Regions from separate parts of the Homo sapiens genome. Here all the other regions are linked to region 1. The links are contacts of gene promoters, found by promoter capture Hi-C in human tissues and cell types (Jung and others, 2019). All regions are on one chromosome and are shown on one strand. Each heading gives the region's core, a stretch centred on a gene start or on the middle of the fragment in contact. The rest is flanking DNA. Distances are from core to core; before and after follow the strand shown. Region 1 holds the start of RNPEPL1 (arginyl aminopeptidase like 1). Region 2 has its middle 7.8 kb from the start of STK25. Region 3 overlaps SNED1 (sushi, nidogen and EGF like domains 1).

What was found. The method cuts DNA at HindIII sites, captures the fragments that hold promoters and counts their contacts. A contact is called where the count stands out against the background at its distance.
Region 2: a fragment that was not itself captured here is called in contact with the fragment with the promoter of RNPEPL1 in region 1 in 1 of the 25 tissues and cell types used here (dorsolateral prefrontal cortex).
Region 3: a contact is called between a fragment that was not itself captured here and the fragment with the promoter of RNPEPL1 in region 1, in 1 of the 25 tissues and cell types used here (dorsolateral prefrontal cortex).

The regions. Positions count from the first base shown.
Region 1 is chr2:240,566,567-240,570,396 of GRCh38, reverse strand. It overlaps RNPEPL1 (arginyl aminopeptidase like 1), which reads right to left and starts at 1,913. Exons shown (of 11, transcript NM_018226.6): 1 at 1,283-1,913. The coding sequence starts at 1,810. RefSeq lists enhancers at 189-827, 777-956, 828-1,466 and silencers at 1,227-1,276, 1,517-1,706, 1,847-1,906, 1,937-2,196, 3,707-3,830. The HindIII fragment of the contact is 6,553 bases long and covers 1-3,830 here.
Region 2 is chr2:241,514,494-241,518,323 of GRCh38, reverse strand. No RefSeq gene overlaps it. Among named protein-coding and RNA genes, the nearest start is that of STK25, 7.8 kb to the right of the region's middle. The HindIII fragment of the contact is 7,266 bases long and covers 1-3,830 here.
Region 3 is chr2:241,085,763-241,089,592 of GRCh38, reverse strand. SNED1 (sushi, nidogen and EGF like domains 1) reads right to left here. Exons shown (of 32, transcript NM_001080437.3): 30 at 2,118-2,201; 31 at 1,191-1,228. The coding sequence ends at 1,192. It also overlaps a transcript of MTERF4 not described here. Among named protein-coding and RNA genes, the nearest start is that of MTERF4, 15 kb to the left of the region's middle. The HindIII fragment of the contact is 4,184 bases long and covers 1-3,342 here.

The DNA.
Region 1 (3,830 bases), core at 664-3,163:
CCCTGTCCACAGCCTGCCAACCCTGACACCACGCAGACTTGGGGGACTATGCCACTCTCCCTGCCCAGAGTACCCAAGGGCCACCCAGTAGGCCATAGGAAGCCAAGAGACAATGGCCACCCTTGCTCACTGGGCCCCGTTCACAGCAGCCTGCTGAGGGCCCTGGTCCGGCCACTCTGCAGGCCAGTGTTGGGCGGACCAGACACGTGGGCTCCAAACACGGATCAAGGCCAAGGAGAAGCCCATCCCTCAGTTCTCACCTGTCATACTGGGAGGCATACTTGCCACCGGTCAGAGCCCTGGAATACCACAGCAGGGGCGGGGCCGGCTAGCCAGCGGCCTGCACACCCACAGGGGTTCTGGGAAAAAGGTGAGGTGGCAGGTCCTGCTTAGGGCTCCTGGGAAATGTACAGGAAGCCCATAGGGGTGCACTGGTCTGGGTTCTTCCTGCCCAGATGTCACCTTGGCTCTTTGTGGCCTGAAGCCTCTCGACCACCTCTCCACCACCCTGTCCATTTATGTGCCGTGACCAGTGACAGCTGGACTTCCCAGCGCCTCCACAGCTGTGTGTGTCTTGCATATGTCGGGTGTCACATGTGTGCCGTCCATACCACCTAGGGATGCAGTATGAACCCCCATGCTGTAGGCAGGAAAGGCCCTGCTCCATCCTGTACACATCCCCACTGGTGGAGGTGGAGGGGGTGCTGCAGCCACAGCGCCAGCCTCAGCCACCTGGCCTTTCTTGCAGAGTCTCTGGAGTGGTGGGTACCCAGTGTGCAAGCCCTGCAGAGCCTATGTGTGTCTATGTTGGGGTCGCGGGGCCCACTGGTCTCAACACTCCACCAGTGCTGGCCAAGGAAGCCCCAAACCGAGCATCACAATCTCCATGGCCCTTTCCTCTGCCTCTGGCTTGGACTCATCTGCACGCACTGGTCACATGGAGGCCCTTCCGCAGCTGACACTCCAGCCCAACCCTTGGTGCCAGGATCCTGCAGATGTACACCTCGGTGGGTGACAGAAGCTGCTCATGTCCCCAGGCAGGGACCAGACACCTGAACGGGAGGCTTCCCGGAGTGACATGCTGTCCCGTGTCCCCGCAGGACTCCGGCTTCTATCCGAGGGTCCTAAGGGCTCACAGGCAACAGCTGGGAATCACCGGGGTGGGGGGAGGGGGGCACCTGTAGGGCGCAGATTCGCGTCCCTCAGCCTGGCCGTGCGGCGAGAGGCCGCTAGCAGCGCCCTGCGGACCGGCCCGCAGCCCCGGCGCCCGCCCCGGACTCACGGCGGGGGCGTCGGTCGAGGTGTACCGCAGGATGACCTGGAAGGGCTGGTGCGCCTGCAGCTCGGGCGGCAGCGTGACGGTGAGCGAGGAGCCGTAGTCGGTGAACGGGTCCACCCTGAAGGCCAGCGGACAGCAGGCGGGCTCGGAGCCGGGCGCCTCGGGGAAGGCGGGCAGCGGGGGCGGCGGCGCGGGCCCCGGCCCGGGGGCGGAGAAGGCGAAGGCGCAGGGCGTCTCGGCGGCGGCGGCGGGGGCGCGACGGAAGGCGGCTGAGTGCAGGCGCAGAGCCGGGTGCGCGTCGAGCACGAGCGCGCGGGGCGCGGGCCGCAGCGCGCACAGCTCGAGCACCAGGCAGCCGGCCAACTCGCGCGCCTCGGGCCGCAGCTCCAGGCCCAGCTGCAGGTGGCGGAGGCGGAAGAGCTGCGCGCTGGAGGCCGAGGCCACGTCCAGGGCGGGCGGCGGCTCGGGCGGCGGGCGGACGGGCGCGGCCTCGGCGCCGGGCGCCTGGCGGCAGCAGCACTGCGCGGCCATGGCCGCCGGCACTAGGTGAAATCCATGGGCGGCGGCCGCGCCGGGCCGCGGGCGAGGGGCGCCGGGCGGCGGCGGCGGCGGGGCGCGGGCACAACAGGAAGTCGCGCCGGGAGCCGCCCGGCCCGGCCCCGCGCCGTGCGCCGCCCCGCTCGGGCTCCGCTCGGCCGCCGCCGGGGGCGCTGTGCGCGGGGCCGGGGCGCGGGGCCGGGGCGCCGGGCGGGGAGGGCCAGGAGCCAGGGGCGCGGGGAGCCGGGGAATCGAGCGCGGCGCGGGGCCGGGGCGCTGTGTTGGGAGCCGAGGCGCGCGGAGCGGGTGAGCAGCACCCCCAGCCCCTCGCTTCCTCCCCGGGCGGCGCCCGGGAGATCCCAGGAGGCGGGATCGCTGCTCCCTCCCAGACACTGCCGGCCAGGCCCCTGGGGCAGCCGCTGAAGGGACCCGGGAACCTTGGGGCCACAGGGGCAGGCTGCTTCCAGGTGTGGTTCGTGTTCCCGAGGAGCGCAGCGTCGCGAACTCAATGTCATCCTTTCATCCGGGGCTACGGGCAGGGCAGGATTCTCCTGGCACCCCTGCCACTCCTCCAAGTCTACAGGTGTGGTCTGTGCTGTGGGCCCTGCGGTGCGAGAAGCGCCGGAGCCTTCACGCAGCGCTGTCAACTACAGCAGCCACCAACCACGTGTGGCCATTTAGATGCGAATTAAATACAGTTAGAAGTTCAGTTCCTTCGTGGCAGGTGGAGTGAGTGAGTGTGTGTGTCTTCCTGGGAGGAGTGGCTAATGGACAAAGCAGGCAGGAATCATTTCCACAATCGCAGAAGTTCCTCTGGGCAGTGCTGGGGACCTCTCATTTGGGAGCCCTGTGCTGGGGTACGAAGGAGGGTCTGGCCCGCCTGTCCCCACCCCATCCGCCAGGTCCACCCTTCCCAACGCCATTCTCTGTGGACCTGGCGAAGGCTGCCCAAGGCTGAGCCTGTCCAGGAGCCTGAGCCCCGAGGGAAGGGGTGCTCGCCTGGCAGAAGCTGCTAGTGAGCTCACAGCGGTTAAATTTTGAGGCTGTGGAATAACAGGGGCCACCATGATGTCGCTGTTGTCATCAAGTAAGAATTCAAATTCCTAGGGACAAGGGGCTTCTGGGGCTGGGGAACTATCCAGGAACCCAGGACACCTCTCTCTTCTGCTCCATTGAGGTGTGGCCGTGCAGGGCTGGACTCGGGTACCGCACTCGACTCAGCGTCAGCCCTGAGTAGTGTTTCCTGTGTCTGGACTCAGTCTCCTCGTTGTGTAACCCTCTGTGTCTACCCTCCTTCCGTGGGGCGGGAAGGAAGGCTGAGAGGGAGAGTGTGCGTTCACGTTTGCGGGACAGAGCACTGAGGCATCATTTCAGTTTTCCCGTAGGACCTCAGGTCCCCACGTGCCCTCTTTAGGGACACGGCCACGATCTTGGGGCACCCATCCCAAACTCACCAGGAACCCCTAGGCTTACACAGTCACTCAGAGGTGTGGATCAGCCTCGCATCCAAGGCTGACAGGGAAGACAGCTGAGATGGGACCCTCCTCACTGCCCCCAGCGCCCTGCCCGGTGGGGCCCTGCAGTGCCAAGGGCAGACTGTTTTCGATGGCACCCCCAGTTCTACGGGGCTCTCCAGAGCCCACCGGGCCATGTTCCTGGCTGGAAGAACCTCAGTTCTGCACACGCGGTGCCACACTAGCTGGGCCTGGCCGTCCGGGGGGCAAGTCACCACAGGGAGCTTGGGGTCTTGCCACCCAGAGCCCCGCATTGGGCTCAGGGAGCAGAGGTTGGGGTCTCGCCCTGGGCACCTCTCCGCGGCCAGTTCTGCACACAGGAGTCCAGAGTTGCTGTGGCACCTCCTCCCCGGGGGCCCAAGGGAGCGCCTCCCACCGCGCACGTATGTGAGGAGCTGCCCTACTGCACCCCATGGAGCGGGAGGCGCGGCTGAGCCGAGGGGGCGGGGTCTGCAACTGAGCCGCGGGAGCCTCTCGCGCCGGCCCCGCCCCGCCCCGCC
Region 2 (3,830 bases), core at 859-3,358, 950 kb before region 1:
GAGCAAGCTCACGGCTCACTGCTGCCTCTACCTTCCAAGCTCAAGTGATCCTCTAACCTCAGCCTCCTGAGTAACTGGGACCACAGGCATGTACAACCACGCCTGGCTAATTTTCTTAATTATTTGTAGAGATGAGATCTTGCTCTGCTGCCCAGGCTGGTCTCACACTTCCGGGCTCAAGCCATCCTTCCACCTCAGCTTCCCAAAGTGCTGGGGTTAGAGGTGTGAGCCACCATGCCTAGCCCTGCCCATTTTTAAATTGGGTTATTTATATTTTTATTATTGCATTGTAAGAACTTTTTAAAATATATATCTTGGATACAAGTCCCTTATCAGACAGATGATTTGCAGATACTTTCTCCCATTTGGTAGGTTGCCTTTTCACTTTCTTGATGGTGTCCTTTGAAGCATACAAGTTTTCAATTTGGTGAATTTGAATTAATCTATTTTTAAATTTTGTCTCTTGTGCATTTGTCATATCTAATAAGCTATTTTATAGTTTTAGCGCTTACATTCAAATTCATGATCCGTTTTTAGTTGATTGGGTCTAACTTCATTCTTTTGCATGTGGATATCCAGTTGTGTGTGTGTGTGTTGGATGTGTGTGTTGGGGTTTGTGTGTTGGGGTGTGTGTACGTGTATGTGTTGTGTATGTTTGTGTGTTGGTGTGGGGTGTTGTGTGTATTAGTGTATTAGTGTGTGTGTTGGGTATGTGTGTTGTGTGTGTGTTGAGGTGTCTACGTGTTGTGTGTTGGGTATGTGTATTGTGTGTGTTGAGGTATCTACGTGTTGTGTGTTGGTGTGTGTGTGTTTTGTGTGTGTTTCGTGTGTGTTGGGTATGTGTATGTTGTATGTGTTGGGGTGTGTGTTGGGTGTTGCGTATGTACATTATGTATGTATTGGGATGTGTGTTGGGTATATGTGTGTGTTGGGCATGTGTGTATTGGGGCTGTGTATTTGTGTGTTGGGCGTGTGTTGTGTGTATTGGGGGTGTATATGTGTGTGTTGTGTATGTTTGTGTGTGTGTTGGGTGTGTGTATATGTCAGGTGTGTGTGTTGGGTATATGTGTGTGTTGGGGTGTGTGTGTTGGTGTTGTGTGTGTTGGGTGTGTGTTTTGTGTATTGGGTGTGTTGTGTTGGGTGTGTTGAGTGTGTATTGGGGGTGTGCATGTGTGTGTTGCGTGTTGGGTATGTGTATGTGTGTTGGGTGTGTGTGTGTGTTGGGGTGTGTGTGTTGGGGGTGTGTGTTGGGTGTGTGTGTGTTGGGTGTGTGTGTGTTGGGGGTGTGTGTTGGGTGTGTGTGTTGGGTGTGCACGTTGTGTGGTGGGGTGTGTGTGTTGGGGGTGTGTGTTGGGTGTGTGTGTGTTGGGTGTGTTTGTGTGTGTGTTGGGGGTGTGTTTGGGGTGTGTGTGTTGGGTGTGTGTTCGGGGTGTGTGTTGGGTGTGTTTGTTGGGGGTGTGTGTGTGTTGGGGGTGTGTTTGTGTTGGGTGTGTGTGTATGTTGTGTATGTGTTGGGATGTGTGTTGGGTATATGTGTTGGGCGTGTGTGTGTGTTGGGTGTGTGTTGTGTGTATTGGGTGTGTTGTGTTGGGTGTGTTGAGTGTGTATTGGGGGTGTGCATGTGTGTTGCGTGTTGGGTATGTGTATGTGTGTGTTGGAGTTGTGTGTGTGTTGGGTATGTGTTGTGTGTGTGTTCAGTGTGTGTGTTGGGTATGTGTGTGTGTTGGGGTGTGTGTGTTGGGTGTGTGTTGGGGTGTGTGTGTTGGGTGTGTGTTGGGGGTGTGTGTTGGGTGTGTGTGTGTTGTGTGCGTGTGTTGGGGGTGTGCGTGTGTTGGGGGTGTGTGTGCTGGGGGTGTGTGTGTTGGGTGTGTGTGTGTGTTGGGTGTGTTTGTGTGTGTGTTGTGGGGGTGTGAGCACAGAGCTTATCTGCCCTCCCTGGGCATGCTGCCCTCCAGCAGCTTGCACATGTTCAGGTATCTGCAAGATCCCAGCACCATTTGTTGAAAAAATTACTCTTCCCCTTTGTTCACTGGCTGGAACAGAGCTAAAACAAAACAATTAAAATAAAGTAATTATTTCCCAACTGAATTGTCTTGGCATACTTTTAAAAAATCAATTGATCATAAGTCTATTTCTGGTAATGAATTTGATTTCATTAATCTACGTATCTTTTTTTGTTTGTTGTTTGAGATGGAGTCTCACTCTGTCACCCAGGCTGGAGTGCAGTGGCACAGTCTCAGCTCACTGCAACCTCCACCTCCCAGGTTCAAAAGATTCTCCCGCTTCAGCTTCCGGAGTAGCTGGGACTACAGGCGCCCGCCACCAGGCCCAGTTAATTTTTTTTTTTTTTCCCGAGACGTAGTCTAGCTCTGTCACCCAGTTTGGAGTGCAATGACACAATCTCAGCTCACTGCAACCTCCGCCTCCTGGGTTCAAGTGATTCTTGTGCCTCAGCCTCCTGAGTAGCTCACATCACAGACGTGTGCCACCATACCCAGCTAATTTTTTGTATTTTTAGTAGAGATGGGGTTTCACTATGTTGGTCAGGCTGGTTTCAAACTCCTGACCTCAAATGATCCGCCCGCCTCGGCCTCCCAGTGTTGGAATTACAGGCATGAGCCACCTTGCCCTGCTGTACTCACTCTTAATTATTATATGGTACATATGTAAACGTCCCGTAGACTTGGAGTTTTAAAACATTCTTTACCCACCGAAGTGTCCTATGCTTTCTTCTCACACCAAAAAAACCTTAGCTTTTGTGGCCAGGCAGCAGTTCATATTGTTGTCTTTGCTCTCGGTGGCTTGAAACTAAAAGTGATTCTGACATTTTCTGAACTAAGACTGAAGTGCAGTTTCCCTTTCTCTTCTCCTACTTCTAGATGCCATTTTTCTATCTTCTTCCTTACTTCTACTTCTACATGGTTAAAGTGGAAAACCTTCACGTTCTATAGAGAATAATTATAAATGTTAAAAATCAACATATGGGAATTACATTATTAAGCCTAAGACATTACTGCTGAGCCTGTGACAGCTATAATTCCCTCATCTTTGTGTTTTCCAAAGATGGCCTCAACATTACCTCCCTCCTCTATGTTTGTCTCACAATGTGAGTTACATGCTTTCCCCCCTTAAATCTGGGTGAGCCATGACGATGGTGGAAGTGGTGCTAACCAGCTGCCAGGTCATTACGAAGCCATGCACTGTGCCAGGTCATTACGAAGCCATGCACTGGCACCTTTTCCTTCCAGAATGCTAGCCTTTGGAATCTCCTGCTGCAGACTCATTTGTGTCTCTTCTACTCCAAAGTTCATATGCTGAAGCCCTAACCGTCAATGTATTTGGAGATAAAGCTTACAAGGAGTTAATGCAAGTTAAATGAGTTCATAAGGGTGGATCCCTGATCCAACAGGATCGGGCCCTCATGAAAAGAGACACCAGAGAGCTCTCTGTCTGCCATGTGAGGACACAGTGAGAAGGCAGCCATTTGCAAGCCAGGAAGAGGGCCTCACCAGGAACTGAATCAGCCAGCATCTTAATCTCAGACTTCCTAGCCTCCAAAACCGTCAGAAATAAATGTCTATTGTCATAGTCATAGGCTGGTATTTTGTTATAGCAGCCTGAGCAGACTAATGCAACCTTCTCATCCCCTCTCCTGCCTACCACACTGTGAGAAAGCTCGAGAAGCCAGTGAGAAGAATGGAGGCCCCAGGCTCACAGCCCTGGATGAGCTCCAGCCTTCAACCAGTACAGACCGAGTGGCCACATAAGCGAGTTTTCTTCAACTTGGATCCTCCAGCCCCAGCTGGCACATGTGAAGCAGAAAAGAGGTG
Region 3 (3,830 bases), core at 1-2,500, 520 kb before region 1:
TCTCTTATGGAGAGACTTTCCACATCCGAAGAGGCAGATGCATGCACTCTGTCATGGCCAACTCAGAGCTCAAGTTCCTGCCATGTGCGGAGCTCCGGCCCAGACCTTTCCCCCAAGGGGGTGTGGACACTCTTCCTTTGGTGTGTGTGAGCCTATATCTGAAAAGCTGTTTTGCTTCTGTTTGTTTTTAAAGGTTCCTGAATGACATTTCTCCTTTATTTTTTTAGGCACGTAACAAAACATAGACCTGTTTTGAAGTGGCTTGTTACCCAAGGGTGCCTCACTCATCTGCGCCACCAGGAAGATGAACTGTGAGGGCTCCTATAAGGGGCAGGAAGAGCAAAGCTGTCCTAGGCCAACCAGAGATTCATCTTTCATGCAGTGACATGTTGATAAAAAATGATGGTCAGTATGAAACTGGTAACAGGTTGTAGATGGCTTTCTATGGTATATCCCAGTCTCTTGCAAACGATTGTGAAGAATGCCAGTGTTGTTTAAGATTCGGCAGTTTGTGTGGGGAGGTGGGGGCAGGATGGGGTTTGGTTGCCAAAAGAGTTTGGGAAATGCTGGCTTAAACAAAGGCGAGAGGAAGTTCCTTTCACGTCAGGATTTATGAATGCCTATGAGCCCAGTGTCAGTGACGACTTTCTAGCGGCGGTCTTCAACACTTTCTAAATATTAAGCGATCAAGGCCCCTGCCCCACTTTTAGTTCCAACAGAATGCCGTTCACAAGATCTGGGAGGCACTCTCTCAGCCCTCTCCTGGAGCCCCCGGAATTTCTCAGCAGCCCAGGCCCTCCCGCTGCCCGTGGCCCCTCCTCCCAGGTGCCAGGTGGTCTTCCAGCCTCTCCAAGGGCCCACCCCCCTGCCTCTTCCTCCCACTGCAGCTGATCTAGGGGTTTCTTGGCCACATTTCCCTTGAGAGAGAGTGGGATTTGCCCTATCCACAGAGAGCCTCATTTCCACCTGAAGGTGTATTTGTCAGTGGCTAGACCAGGTTCATGTCTGTTTCCCCTTGGGGACTTCTGAACCTTCCTGCCCGGGAGTCTGTAACACAGCAGCACAGGACCGCGCTTCCTTTAGCAGTGCTGAGTAAGCAGGCAGCGGCACTCTGAGATCCCGGGGCTGGGCAGTCGCCCCCCACTTCCCAGCAGCTCTGTGGTAGTGGGGCGGGAGCAGCAGGGACGTACCTTAAGATTTCTCCAGTGTCTGACTCTTACTTTGTTTCCTGAAATAATTAGAGAAAAGTCGTTTAATGAAAAAGAGACTGTGTACCTTGAATTCTACAGCTACCTCAGTCCAGGCTGCCTGCTGAGATCCTGTCTTTAGCTCACATACATTCCACGGTGGGGGACACCATTAGTCCAGACACCGCTGTGGAGATTAGCATTTTAGTTTGTGTGCGCCCGCCTGGCTTGAGGCAGTAGTTTAGGAATGACAAGGCTAGAAACCTGGCTGGCTGTGAGTCAGAGAGAGAGAGGATGGACGTGGGAGAAAGCAAGCAAAAGCTACCCTAGGGAAGAGCCGGTGACGTGCACAGGCCGAGCAGCACGGCTGGTGAGCTGCAGGCTGCGGCCTTGCCCGGACACTTGGTAATGCCAAACAAGTACGTGTGGCTACTCATTGGTCTATGAGGACGATGACAGGCTTCGACTCTGTGGTTTCTAAAGCATATAATATTCTCACGTACTTCTTTCAGCAAACGCCAAACAGTAGTAATTCTTGTAACTACCTTGAACCCTTTGTGGAAAGAACCTGGGTGTGAGTGAATAAAAAGTAAAGAGCGACGCGCTATATCGGCCATTAAATACTCGGGGCTGTCCGTAACACCCTGTGCTTCCCAATTGTAGCACCATGTTCTGTGTGAATATGCATAACCAGAGTGACCCCCCCCAGCACCCAGCATGCCCGGCTGTGCCCCTCTGGGTATGCTCACATGCACATATATGGACATACAGTTTCGTAGCAGAACGTGGCTGCCCAGGGGCTGCCTATCTGGGCGAGTAGACCGCCTGGCTCAGCCCACAGGCCTGCAGCATCCCATAGCACCCCGCCCTTGCCCCATCACCCTGTGGGCTACATGCAGGACACGGCATGGGCCTGCTCCCCAGAGGCACCTGTTTGGGGTCTTCTTGAGGCTTGTGCTTTCACAGCTCTCTTTGAAGCAGATGTCTTGGTGAACTCGGTAGACTCTTTTATACCTGTTGTCACAAGAAAGCTTTGTAAAACCAGACAGTGAAGCAAAATGTTGCCAACTGCTTAACCTAGGCTATGTGAACCCACAGTAAACCTGAAGGTGTTTGAGGGAAAAACTGCTATTTTCTGAATGAAACGTGACCTCCTATTGATGTATTAAAATGTCTAACATAAAGGTCATGTGATTTGTAATAAATTTATTGTGGTACAGTAATATGCATAAAATAAACCCATTTTAATGTGCATTCTGATGAGCACTGACAAAGGATATGGTACTAAAAATAAAATGTGAAATGTCAAAGACATGTCAGTGCTAGAGGCAGCCACCTGGCCGGAGGCCTGGGGAAGGTATGGCCTCGCTTTTCTGTTTTTCTGGGTATTTCACAGAGAAGTTTGAGGAGTGTTGGGGATTCGGGATTCGGATGTAGGCATTGTAGAACAGGAGACCCGATTTCATCTCCTGCCTCTTCCATTTATTAACCAGGCTACTTTGAGCAAGTCTCTTCAAGTTTTAAGCCTCGGTTGCAGGTAAAAATGGGACCTACTCATACCATCTCTCTTACAAGTTTGTAGATAATAATGGATGGGAAGGCGTTTTGTCTTTTGTTAAAGTTCTCAAATGTCAGAGCTGTTTAAAAGGGAAATCCAAGGAGTTCAGCAGGCAAAGCTCCAACTCATATGCTAAGTCTCATAGAACCTTTAGGATCGAAAACCTGTGGTAAGACTTCCATTTCTGGACATGAAAGAGTAACAGAATCTGGAATTAACCTCCCAATGTGAACAACCAGAGAACTGGACAAAATATAGTAAGTAACTGTATGTCAGATGTTAGAAAACAGACAACACGAGACTGTAATCCCTGAGAGAGGAGAAACAGATGAGATGAGTCCTGTGGTCAGCCTGGAATTCAGCCTAGAGAAGTTTTTGGATGGCATCACAGAGAAAGGGGATCCAAGCAGTGGTCACACTGAGTTGAGGAAACAGAGATTGAAGTTGGGGAGACAGAGGCAGCTGGAATTTGTGGGGCAGTACTGAAGAGGAGGGAACTATGCAGAGGAGGAACTCCAGAATCTGTGTAGGGTCCCCTTGGGCCTGTGGTTGGAAATAAAGCTGTGCATGCATAGGGTGAATCCCCACAAGGCAAAGAAGAACTACTGAGGAGTTGAACGATTTCCAGAGCCAGAGTAGAGAGATCTTGTTTATTAGGCCATCCATAGAAACCCCAGACAGGGCCAGGTGCGGTGGCTCACTCCTGTAATACCAGCACTTTGGGAGGCCAAGGCGGGCCGATCACTTGAGGTCAGGAGTTTGAGGCCAGCCTGGCCAACATGGTGAAACCCTGTCTCTACTAAAATACAAAAATTAGCTGGGCATGGTGGTGAGTGCCTGTAATCCCAGCTACTTGGGAGTCTGAGGCAGGAGAATAGCTTGAACCCAGGAGGGCGGAGGTTGTAGTGAGCTGAGATCGCTCCACTGCACTCCAGCCTGGGCGACAGAGCAAGACACTGTCTCAAAAAAAAAAAAAAAAAAAAAAAAGAAACCGCAGAAAGGCCATGCCATAGAACTAGGGCAAAATTAACCCCAGAATAAAGGCTACTCCAAAGCCACCTAAAACAAGCCTCAGAAGGATCAAA